Linked DNA regions of Homo sapiens: region 1 is linked to region 2. Evidence: promoter capture Hi-C in human tissues and cell types (Jung and others, 2019). All regions are on one chromosome and are shown on one strand. The core of a region is centred on a gene start or on the middle of the fragment in contact, and the rest is flanking DNA. Distances in the headings are between cores, read along the strand shown.

The links. Contacts are between HindIII fragments. The study calls those that stand out against the background at their distance.
Region 1: a fragment that was not itself captured here is called in contact with the fragment with the promoter of CARTPT in region 2 in 2 of the 25 tissues and cell types used here (mesenchymal stem cells and spleen).

The regions. Positions count from the first base shown.
Region 1 is chr5:71,767,515-71,773,278 of GRCh38, forward strand. No RefSeq gene overlaps it. Among named protein-coding and RNA genes, the nearest start is that of CARTPT, 51 kb to the left of the region's middle. The HindIII fragment of the contact is 4,329 bases long and covers 1-3,996 here.
Region 2 is chr5:71,714,378-71,720,594 of GRCh38, forward strand. CARTPT (CART prepropeptide) reads left to right here and starts at 4,898. Exons shown (of 3, transcript NM_004291.4): 1 at 4,898-5,075; 2 at 5,503-5,586; 3 at 6,131-6,217. The coding sequence starts at 4,917. RefSeq lists an enhancer at 5,036-5,922. The HindIII fragment of the contact is 5,473 bases long and covers 3,460-6,217 here.

The sequences.
Region 1 (5,764 bases), core at 582-3,081, 50 kb after region 2:
AATGAAACCTCTAACATTTGATTACTTTGTGTTTCTAGGGAAGACAGCATAACACATGGAATAGAAGCAATCATAAAAGATGAAATAAAACCTAAGTTTGCAGGCTGCAGGGGTTCACTGCATTTCAGATGAAAACAGAAGAGATCCACATCTACATATATTCAAAGAAAAATTTTGAATTATACAGATTTTTAAAAAGTCCTATAAATCTATTTAGAAAAGATAATTTATCTGTCAATTGCAGGAATTATTGAGTAGTTTTTTCTCCTAAAAGCACTCTGATGCTATTTTGGGAAACTGACTCCTCTCTACTTGAGTCATTACAATGGAACCATAAGTCAAGATATTTTGTCCTTTCCTGCCAAGAAATGGGAATGCAACCTGAGACTGACAGGAGTGTCTCTCTGGAACTGAAACTTTAGCAGAGCAATAAAATGACAGAATATAGTTGTATCTGCTCATTCATCCTAGTTGCAATGCCATAATGTCTTTTATCACTTCTTACAAATTCTAGGATTGGCCCTTGTTTCTTTTTCAAACCTGTTGGGTTACCTTTTCTAGGTTCTAAGTTCCCCTATATTCTGCTTATAACTTCCACTTTTGCTCCAGTTGGCAAGATACCCTAAGAGAAAGGTAGATTTTTGAGGAGCGGGGAAACTGGCCAGAATGGGGAAAAGGGGGAAAATTCGCTTTCATATTGCGGGTTAGTATCCCAACAGTGTAAAACAACTGTTACGTTCCCTCTATGTGCGCCAGAAGGTGGTGCTCTGAAAAACTGAGTAGCTGATGGCAAAAAATAATTTAAACATTCTGGAACAACAGGGTAGGATGGCTGCTTCTGGTGGCATTGAATAACATAAAGTAAGAGAATAGCAAAATCAGATCTCTAAATTATCACATCAGGCTAATTTTCTGTGGCCTTTCTGTTTGGCTCTTCAAGACTCACAATTACTGATATAATCATGTTGCTGTGGGCATATTTCATATGACCTTCCTTCCTTATTTTATTAGTTTAGATAAGCTGTGAGTGCATTAGACCAGACGGTTTAGCTGTTGGCCATTTTAATGATAGTTTTTTTTTTTTTTTTTTTTTGAGACACTCTTGCTCTGTTGCCCAGGCTGGAGTGCAGTGGCATGATCTTGGCTCACTGCAACCTCTGCCTCCCAGGTTCAAGCAATTCTCATGCTTCAGCCTCCCAAGTAGCTGGAATTACAGGCGTATGCCACTGCGCCTGGTTAATTTTTGTATTTTTGGTAGAGACAGGGTTTCACCATGTTGGCCAGGGTAGTCTCAAACTCTTGACCTCAGATGATCCACCTGCCTTGGCCTCCCAAAGTGCTGGGATTACAGTGTGAGCCACTGCGCCCGGCCAGAGAGTTTATTTATTAATTTACTTTATTTATATTCTACACACACACACACACGGACACCCCTTTACACATACTCCTGGGAAAAATGCAGGGAGCAGAGCACACAATTATGGAGGTTTGAAAATACCTTCTTTTTTTCTTTTCTCTTTTTAGCTACACCTGCTGGAATGGGAGTATTTTTAAATACCTTCTAATGACACCAGCAAATAAACAAAAGTTGTGTTATCTTCACAATCACTATATGCTAGAAGGCTTAAAAAACTTCAGTATCTACAGAATTTGGAGGGAGACAAGTAAAGTTTAAAATAAGCAAAGTTGTCTTTTGTGTGTGATGGCAATAGAAAGTTATTCTTAGATGTGTATGGGCGCAGGAATCACACCATCCACGCTACCTTCTTGAAAAAACTGCTCCAGCCAACCAAGAGAAGCAAACTGGAGAGCTAAATAAGGGCAAGCATGGTCTGAAAGGACTTGTGGTTCTCACCTAAGCCTAATCCCAAACCTAACTGTAACCCTGCACTCAGGACCCCTGTGGAGTGTTTATTTTCAGGGGGATTTTGCAGGCAAAGGTGAAGCTTGGTCCAGCAGTGCTTCCTCAAGCTGCTTCCTCACCCTGCTGCTCATTTCCTGTACCAGGAAATGTGTCTCTCACCATACCTCCTTTGCTCCCTGGTGCAGCTAGAATTTAAAGCTTTGTTTGGTGAACATAGGCAATTTGTATTTTGTTTATGTATTTGCAAACAAAAGTAATCTGTACAGAGGGTAATGATTCAGTGCTGAGAAATAAATACATTTTCCCCTGATTCCACCAAGCAGGATGCTTAATGAAACATAATGAACTTTTTTATTGCCAAGCCGAGTAATGATTTTCTGAGTCTTTAAAACTTATATTGGAGGATTTTATCCTACAAAAATAAAAGAATTAGCTTATAAGGATATGTATAAAGATACACATTGAATGTGACAAAGCGAAGTAAAACAACTTGAATGCCATCAATAGGGAGTGATTGAATAAACTGTGGCATGTCCAGATTTCTAGAATATTACATAGCTACTAATAAGGAGTTCGATTTATATGCAATGACCGATAGGAAAGGCCACCAGCAAAGTACATTGCAGAGAAATGTATATAAATGATTGTATTTTTTGTAAAATCAGAAAAGCCTTTTATTGGTGTGAATATTTTCAGTTGTGTGCATTCATATGAATGTAGAAAAATGTGGACACTAAATTAACATTTCTTGTTTTCAGGAAGGGATAATAGCAGGAGTGAGAGTCACGGGAAAGGCAAATGTTGGGTTTTTCTTTGATACTCAGGATTTTTTTTTCTTGGAAAATAAGCGGCAATACAAGCATGTATTGTTTTTTCAGTTTGAAAGAAATCTGATAGAGTAGATAATAAAGATAATTTATCTTGAATGAAATGACTTCAGTATTTTTTTAAATTGAGAAAGATGAATACATGACCCAGGGACAGAAGTGATGTCAAATTCCTTTGCACATCATTTTCTACCTGTGATTTTCTATCTATGATTTTCTATCTATGATGTGTATCTGCTTAAAAATTACTGTATATTAATTGTTCTCTACTTGATCATTTATATACCATATAATCCAGCCTTTATATGTGTGCAGTTTGGTGATTTTTACTATACTTGGAATGGTGCAACCTGCAAACATCACCACTATCTAATTACAGAACAGTTTCATCACCCCAAAGAGAAATCCTGCACCCATTAGCAGTCATTCTTCATTCTCTGCCCTTCCACCCATCCAGACCTGGGCATCTACTTCTGTGTGTATGGATTTGCCTATTCTGAAACTTCATATAAATGATCCTACAATATGTTGCCTTTTGTGTCTAGCTTCTTTGACTTAGCATAATGTTTTCAAGGTTTATTCATGTGGTAGCATGTGTCACTATTTCATTCCCATTTTTTTTTTTTTTTTTTGAGACGGAGTCTCCCTCTGTCGCCCAGGCCGGAGTGCAGTGGCTCGATCTCTGGTCACTGCAACCTCTGTCTCCCGGGTTCAAGCGATTCTCCTGCCTTAGCCTCCTGAGTAGCTGGGATTACAGGTGCCCGCCACCTCACTTGGCTAATTTTTTTTTGTATTTTTAGTAGAGATGGGGTTTCAGCATGTTGGTCAGGCTGGTCTCGAACTCCTGACCTCTTGATCCGCCTGCTGTGGCCTCCTAAAGTGCTGGAATTACAGGCGTGAGCCACCGCGCCCAACCATTTCATTCCTTTTATAGACAAATAATATTCTCTTATAGTGGCATATTACATTTTGTTTATCCATTCATCAGTTGATTGACATTTAAATTGTTTCCATTTTTTGTCTATTTTGAATATGGCTGCTATGAACATTTGCGGACAAGTTTTTGTGTGGACACATGTTTTAAATTTTTTTTTGTATATACCTAGGAGTGAAATTGCTGGATCATGTTAGCTCCATGTTTAACATTTTTTGGAAACCATCACATTGTTTTCCAAATCAGCTGTGCCATTTTGTAATACCACAAAGAAAGTATGAGGGTTAAAATGTCTTCATATCCTTGCCAACACTTGCTATTTTCTGTTTTTTTAATTGTGGTTATCCTGATGGGTATGAAATGGTTTTGATTTTCTTTATCCCAATGACATGCCGTTGAACATTTAAAATGTTCTTTTGGTTATTTGTATTTCTTCTCCAAATAATTGTCTTTTCAAATTCTTTGCCCATTTAAAATAGTTGAGCTCTTTGTCTTCTTCTTATTGTTGAGTTGTAAGAGTCCTTTGCTCTGTATAGAAGTCCCTTGGCAGCTACATGATTTGCAAATATTTTCTCCCATTCTGTGGGTTCTCTTTTCATTTTCTTGACAGTATCATTTGAAACACAGAAATTTTAAATTTTGATGTAAGTCCAATTTATCTATTTTTTTCTTTTCATGCTTTGTGTTTTATCTAAGAAACTACTGCCTAATCCAGGAAGATTTAGTCCTGTAAAATTCTTTCTTCTAAGAATTTTACAGTTTTAGCTTTTACATGTAGGCCTATGATCCTGAGTTCATTTTTGTCTTTTTGAGATGGGGTCTTGCTATGTTGCCCAGGCTGGTCTCAAGCTCCTGAGCTTGAGATCAGGGATCCTCCTGCCTCTCAGCCTCCTGAGTAGCAGGACTACAGGTACATGTCACTGTTTCTGAGTTAACTTTTATATATGGTGTGAAGTAGAGGTCAAACTTTATTTTTGGCATGTAGATATTCTGTCGTCCCAGCACCATTTATTTAAAAAAAACTATTCTGTCCATATTCAAGTGTCTTGTCACCCTTGTCGAAAATCAGTTGATGATAGGCATCCAGGCTTATTTCTGGACTCTCAATTAATTCTATTGATCTGTTTGTCTATCTTTATGACTGTACCATACTTCATTACTGTTGCTTAGTAGTAAGTGTTGTAAGTGGGAAGTGTGAATCCTCTCAATTTTGTTCTTCTTTTTAAAGATTTTTTTTTTTTTTTTTTGCTATTCTGGGTCCCATGCAGCTGTATATAAATTTTAGGATCAGCTTGCCAATGTCTGCAAAGAAACCAGGTGAATTTTTATAGAGATTACATTGAATCTGTAGAACAATTTGGGAAGTACTGCCATCTTAACAATATTAAGCCTTCCAATCCATAAACAGGGGATGTCTTTCTATTTATTTAGAACTTAAATTTCAGTATACAAGTCTTGCACTTCTTTTGTTAAATTTATTCCTAAGTATTTTATTCTTTTTGATGCTATTGTAACTAAAACTGTTTTCTTAATTGCAGTTTCATGTTGTTCATTGCTAGTGTATAGAAATATAGCTGCTTTTTGTATATTGATCTTGTGTTGTGAAACTTGCTGAACACTTTAATTAATTTTTATAGTTTTTTTGCATTCCTTAGGATTTTCTATATACAAGATCATGTTATCTCTGAGCAGAGATGGTTCTACTTCTTCCTTACAATTGGATATTATCTATTTCTCTTGCCCAGGCAAATTTGTGTTCAGTACAACATTGAATAGGGTGGTAAAAGTGAATATTTTTCCTGTTTTTAATGGTAGGGGGAAAGCATTCAGTCTTTCCCTATTAAGTATTATGTTAACTGTAGATTTTTTAAAAGATGCTCTTTATTGGACTGAGAAAGTTCCCTTCTATTTCTACTTTGTTGAATGCTTTTATCATGAAAGGGTGTTGGATTTCATCAATTTTGTCTTCTGTATCTATCGAGGTAATCATATGGGGTTTGTTCTTTATTCTATTAATATTGTGTATTACATTGATTGTTTATCAGATGTTAAACCAATGTTGCATTCTTGTGATAAACTCCACTTGGTCATGGTGTATAATCTTTTTGTGTGTTGCTGGAGTCAGTTTGTTAGCATTTT
Region 2 (6,217 bases), core at 3,648-6,147:
CTGGATTTTCTTTTTGTGCTCCAAAGTTCCTTTTCAGGCTTGTTTCCCATTATGCTTCCCCGTCTCTCACATTCCCATGCACCCTGCTCTCCAGCAACCCAGAGCACTCAGTGCTCCCCAGATCTCCTACCTTGATGACTTGACTTTGCTGCCTGCCCGCCCCCAAGGTCCCAGAGTGGGATGTTTGCTATTGTTGGAATTCTACCCATCCCCTAGGACTCAGTAGCTCATTCAAAGGATGCCCCTTTTTCACGAAGATTCCCTCTTGTGGCAATGAATCTCTGACTTCTCTGGGCTCCTCTTTCTCTAGTAGGACCCTCATCTCACTAAGTCATTGTATTTTAGGAGTTTGTGGACGTGGGCACAAATGACTAGACCCAAAGATCCTCAAGGCAAGAAGTGTCTGGATTATCTCAGCAGTCCTCAAAATACTTAGCAGAGTTGTGAGCATATAGGGCACCCAGATTTTAAAATTAAGTCTTGAAATGGAAAGCTTTTCAATTGGAAGCTTAAAAAATTGACTGAAAAGCTTTGTTTAATTTCGCCTGCTTTGCTCCTTCAGAAGCAGTCTGTAAAGCACATGTTCTTTGCTACTGCATCTCCACCCCTCCCAATTTAGAACCGACTCCAAGTGTCCTTTACTTACAGATTATTTTCTTTCAGATAGTGATAAAGATGTTTAGTTAGAACACAGTGAATAGCAGTTCCTTTGGAAGGCTATGGCTTGGAAGTAAACAGAACATAAATGTCAATGGGAATTAATCTCTCTTCTGCAGGGAGGAAGAGTGGAGAGCAAACAATGTAGAAATGAAAAAAAGTCACCCAAGAGATTGCATATGTGTACCAAAGAGAACAGAGTGATGTTTAACTTGGAGGAAAGTGCAACTAACACAAATAAGGAGAAACAGTCTTAAATATGAATATTTAGGAAGTCAATAAAACTGAGGACTTACCAAAATTTAAATTGAAATTTTAAATTTTTATTTTATTTTTGTCACAGGGGCTCACTTTGTCACCCAAGCTGGAGTGCAGTGGTGGTGTGATCATGGCTCATTGCAACCTCAACTTCTTGAGCCCAATTAATCCTCCTACCTCAGCCTCCTGAGTAGCTGGGACTACAGGCATGTGCCACCACTTCTGACTAATTTTTTTTTTCTTTTCTTTTTTTTTTTCTTTTGTAGATATGTGGTTTCACCATGTTGACCAGACTGTTTTTTTGTTTTGTTTTGTTTTGTTTTGTTTTTGAGACAGAGCCTCGCTTTGTCACCTAGGCTGGAGTGTAGTGGTGTGATCTCAGCTCACTGCAATCTCTGCCCTGCTGGGTTCAAGTAATTCTCCTGCCTCAGCCTCCCAAGTAGCTGGGATTACAGGTGCATGCCACCACACCTGGCTAATTTGTGTATTTTTAGTAGAGATGGGGTTTTGCCATGTTGGCCAGGCTGATCTCAAACTCCTGACCTCAGGTGATCCACCTGCCTTGGCCTCCCAAAGTGCTGGGATTACGGGCGTGAGCCATTGTGCCCAGCCAGACCAGACTGGTCTTGAACTTTTGAGCTCAAATAATCCTCTTGCCTCGGCCTTCCAAAGTGTTAGGATTACAGGTGTAAGCCACTGCACCTCGCTGAAATTGAGGATGTTTTACTGTTGAACAAGACTTGGTTGGGGTGAGGGATGGGAGAGGAGGGTTAATGGTTAACAAAGTAGTCTGATATTTGGGAAATACGACAACCTAAGAGGCCAGTGTTATTCTGAGTTACATAGGAACAGAAATTATTCACAACTGAAGGAGAAAGGAAGGGAGAGAGAAATACTAAAGCTTAGGAAAAAACATCACTGTGGTGTTAAATTCTGCCATGACCTTCTCATTACTTAAAATCTTAGGGCTCTAGGGTTCTAATTTAGTAATATTGAACACATATGTTTTAAGGGGTGTGTGTGTGTGTTTTCTTTTTTCCAAGAACAATACAGACATCGTTTTCTTGCCAAGTCACAAATCAATTGATGGGTTATTTTTATAGTGAAAAGTTCAGGACTCCAAGAGTTAGGCATGAGTAAGAAGAGGTTTTTAAAATGTTCTCAGATAGCAGTATGTTGTAAGTAGATCTTGCTGGCACTGGTTTCTTGGCTGTCTGCTTATGAGATTTCTTTACTTGAGCTATTTCAAAGAGCAGGACTGGAGGCCTACTCTATCTCAGAAAAGATGATTAAGAGAGATTTGTTCACATTAAATCTCCAAAGACCCATCCTGGCCATTGCTTCTCTTTCATGAGGTGACCTGCCTCCCTTTTCTATATCTGGGGTGAGAAGTAGTAGTTAAATTCCATATGATTTTAATTGCTTGGGGCATCAGTGATGGGCTTTTTTCCCCTAATGGAGTCATTACAAAGTAGTAAGAATATACAAATTCTCCTAACAGGGCATAATATGAAGACTGTGGAATGTCTCATGCTTTTGTTTCTTTTTGAGTTTTAACTTACATAAAAGTTGTCTTTGGGAAGAAGATAGCCTAGAATTTACTATACCATGCTAGCTAAAGACAGTTTATAAAGTCATTCTGTTCAAGATGAAGAAAAGCCTGTGGTATGTAAGTGACAAAGATGCCCCTGGCTTGTTTCACAGGATTTTCCAAGAGTCCTTTCCCTAACCCCTTAACTAAATGTGCCTTCCTTATAAGAAAATGATAGCACCAACTCAAGTTCAGCAAGATTTAAACTTTGGATTTTTTTCCAATAGAAGTAGCACAAAGGGAAAGTTATTACTTGTGTCTGGGTAGAACAAAATTGGAGAGAAAGTATTGCATTGACAATATCTACATCCTTCAGGAAGAATAGGCTAAAATCTTATTTGAGATTATTTTTCTTCTGAAGCTTAGAATAGTTTAAAGATCACTGGAGATGGTTTTTGCAGTGAGTGTCAATATGTCTCTGTAAGGTTTTAACAGTAAAACGTGCTGCCACTGAAGTTTTCTTGTGCAGAATCAAAAGGTATGTGTGGAAGGCAGAGCTGAGGGAGGTGTTAGATACATTTTCAAGTTGGGTTTACCCCACAGCAAAATATTTTGATGCTGTTAATATGTGTGCTATTCATTAGAAGAGATATCACTTCTTGAATTGCTTCCCAGTGAGTATTTGAGTACCAATTAAATACTTGATAGTTGAAGTAACCAGGCATATATTGTGTATTAAACTATCTTAATGACCCACATAATCTGCTATGCAATAAATTTGTGGGAGAAAAGTATTGATAGATGGTTTGGATTGAGTAGTCATAGATATTTACACTGAGATTTAAATAACAGAAGTAGTGAGCCTTTTGGAAATACAGGAAGACCTTTCAAGGAGGGGTAAGTGCAAAGACATCAAAGTATGAATGAGATTGGCCTGCTAGAGGACCAGAAAGAAGGCCATGTGAGGTTGGAGTGGAGGAGTCTGGGGCAGAGTGGTAGAACATGAGGTGGAGAGGGGTGAAGATCATATAATGCTTTGCAAGTCAGGATGAGGAATCTAGATTCAGTGCTTAGTAAGATTAGGAGTCATTAGTGTATTTTAAGGGGAAAAATACTCTGGTTGGTGGTGAACTATGGAGTAGAGGAAGGCAAGAGAAGATAGGGTGGGGATTAAGTGGTAGACATTAAGTTGACTGGGGCAGCTGTCTAGGACTGGGTTGTAGTAATGGGGATGGAGAAGAGTGGATGAATTTAGGAACAGTTGAGGGAAAGATGGTGTGGTGAAGGAAGCCAGGTGAGCAAGCAGGTCTAAGCGGGAAAGCATTGCTTTTCCTACAGGAATTTTCCTGTGCATTCAGGCTGTAAGGATCTCAACTTTTAAAAAAGCCACATTGTTCTCCCAAGTTGTTGGGGAGCTGGTTCACCATTGACTTCTGATCTCTGGAGATATTTTCATAATCATGGAGCTGTCTTTCTTTTCACTCTTTTACTCTCTTTCTAGACAGGCTTCTTGGATACCAAGGGTTGGTGGTGGGTGGGGGGAGGTTCTGGGGATGGTTAAATTTGCCTGGGCAGCCTCAAAGTTCAAAAAGGAGGGACAGGGAAGCTTAGCTAAGAACCAGGAGTTTGACATACTTAATCTCTCATTTCATCCTACTGATGACTTTGTGAGGTATATCTTTTTAATCCTAGATCTACAAAAGAGAAAGCTGAGGCTTGGAGAGGTTCTTCATTTTGTTCAAAGTCATACAACTTTTACGTGGTGTAGCCAGGATGGGAACCAGAGCCTGGCTCTCTGCACTTCCAACACCACTGCTGAATCCGGGTTTGTCTGTTTTCCCTCTCTTCTTTTAACTATTGTCACACAGATTCCATCATAGAACCCATCACGTGGAGGGCCACTATTTCTCTTTCTTTTGTATAGTATGTTTGCTTCCCCTACCCCACAGAGTAAGGTGCTCAGCAAATGTGGCTGTCTGGAGGCAACACCCCCTTCTCACCGCCACACTTGGGGTTGGGGTGCGAGGCAAGGCAGGGCTGGCGAGGTGGATGTTGCAGCTGTCACCACTGCTAGGTGTTGGGAAACGACTCTCCTGCCTGTGCATTGACCCGAAGGCATTTTCCATTTCCTAGGCCCCTCCCGCTTCCCGTCCCTCACCTCTAGCCCCTCGGCTTCAGCTCAGGCCCCTCGGGGAGCATCCCTTGCCGTGAGACTGACAGCCTTTGGGGGCGCAGGGTCCTGTTCTCTGCGCTCTAGCCCATCTGTGCGCAGAGCCTCGTTCCCAGGCGCCTGGAACCCGGCGGGCATTGACGTCAAGCGCCGGCGGAGCGCTGCCTACAGACGGTTGACCCGGGCCCTCCTCCACACCCCCTTCCTTCTTCGCCTCCTCCCTCTTTCCTGCACGGGGGCTCGGGCTCACTATAAAAGGTGGGAGCGCGTGGTGCCCCAGCAACGACGAGTTTCAGAACGATGGAGAGCTCCCGCGTGAGGCTGCTGCCCCTCCTGGGCGCCGCCCTGCTGCTGATGCTACCTCTGTTGGGTACCCGTGCCCAGGAGGACGCCGAGCTCCAGCCCCGAGCCCTGGACATCTACTCTGCCGTGGATGATGCCTCCCACGAGAAGGAGCTGGTCGGTATTCCCCTCGCTCTCGACCCCCTTGAGCTGTCGCCTTGTCTCTTCTCTTGCACGCCTCCCTCCTCCCCCCACCCCCACTCCTATTCCCAGAGTCAGGGCGCGGGGAGCTGAGCGCAACGCCCAGGCACCCACTGCCATCCGAAGAGCGTCTCGAGCTCACGGGCTCCTGGCAGTCTGTTGAGCGAATCCCTCATCCCGGCCCCTCTGAGCAACAGGGACCCCAGCGGCTCAGAGACCCGCGGTCAGTACCTGGGACAGCGTCCGCTAAGTTTCCACCCCTCGACCATTCCCTGTGTCCGCGGAGTCCCACCGCAGAGTGCGTGTGGGTCCGGGGCTCCTTATAACTAGGGCTGGAAGTGCGCACCTGGGCTGGGCTCGCAGCCAAGGCGGCAACTTCAGGCTCCGAAGCGGTGTGTTGCAGATCGAAGCGCTGCAAGAAGTCTTGAAGAAGCTCAAGAGTAAACGTGTTCCCATCTATGAGAAGAAGTATGGCCAAGTCCCCATGGTAAGGTTTGTGGTCACTCCCTTCCCGTGTTTTTCCAAGAGAAAGTACACCGCCTTGAATCGTACACACAGTCTTCTCCGTAGGATGTGGCTAAATAACTTAGGTAATGGGCTTGCAGGATTCTGTGGGCTCCTTCTTCCTTCCCGGGTGAGGAAATGGGAAAGCAGGAACAGGGGTTGTAAGAAAGTGTAAGTCTATTGTTTGTTGCTCAGGAAAAAGGTCTGATTTTTTTCCCCTCTGAGAGGGCAAGAAAAGGAGCCAGGAAATGTGATGCTCCCCTTCCCACGCCCCCCAACCCTCGCCACTTAAAGGTGGAAGAAACTAGGATAAAACTAATAATGTAAGTTTCTTTAAAAAATGTACTCTCACTGAGGTTATAAGCACAAGGCTCCCTGTTTCAGATCTGACTGTACGTAGACCTCTTGTGATGGTGATGGGGTCCAATTGCCCCTTTCAAGAGACAGAAATTGCGTTGACTGTGAGACTTGCCTGTTGGGAACCTGGGTTTGTTCATACTCGATGACCACACATTTTGTTGTTTCAGTGTGACGCCGGTGAGCAGTGTGCAGTGAGGAAAGGGGCAAGGATCGGGAAGCTGTGTGACTGTCCCCGAGGAACCTCCTGCAATTCC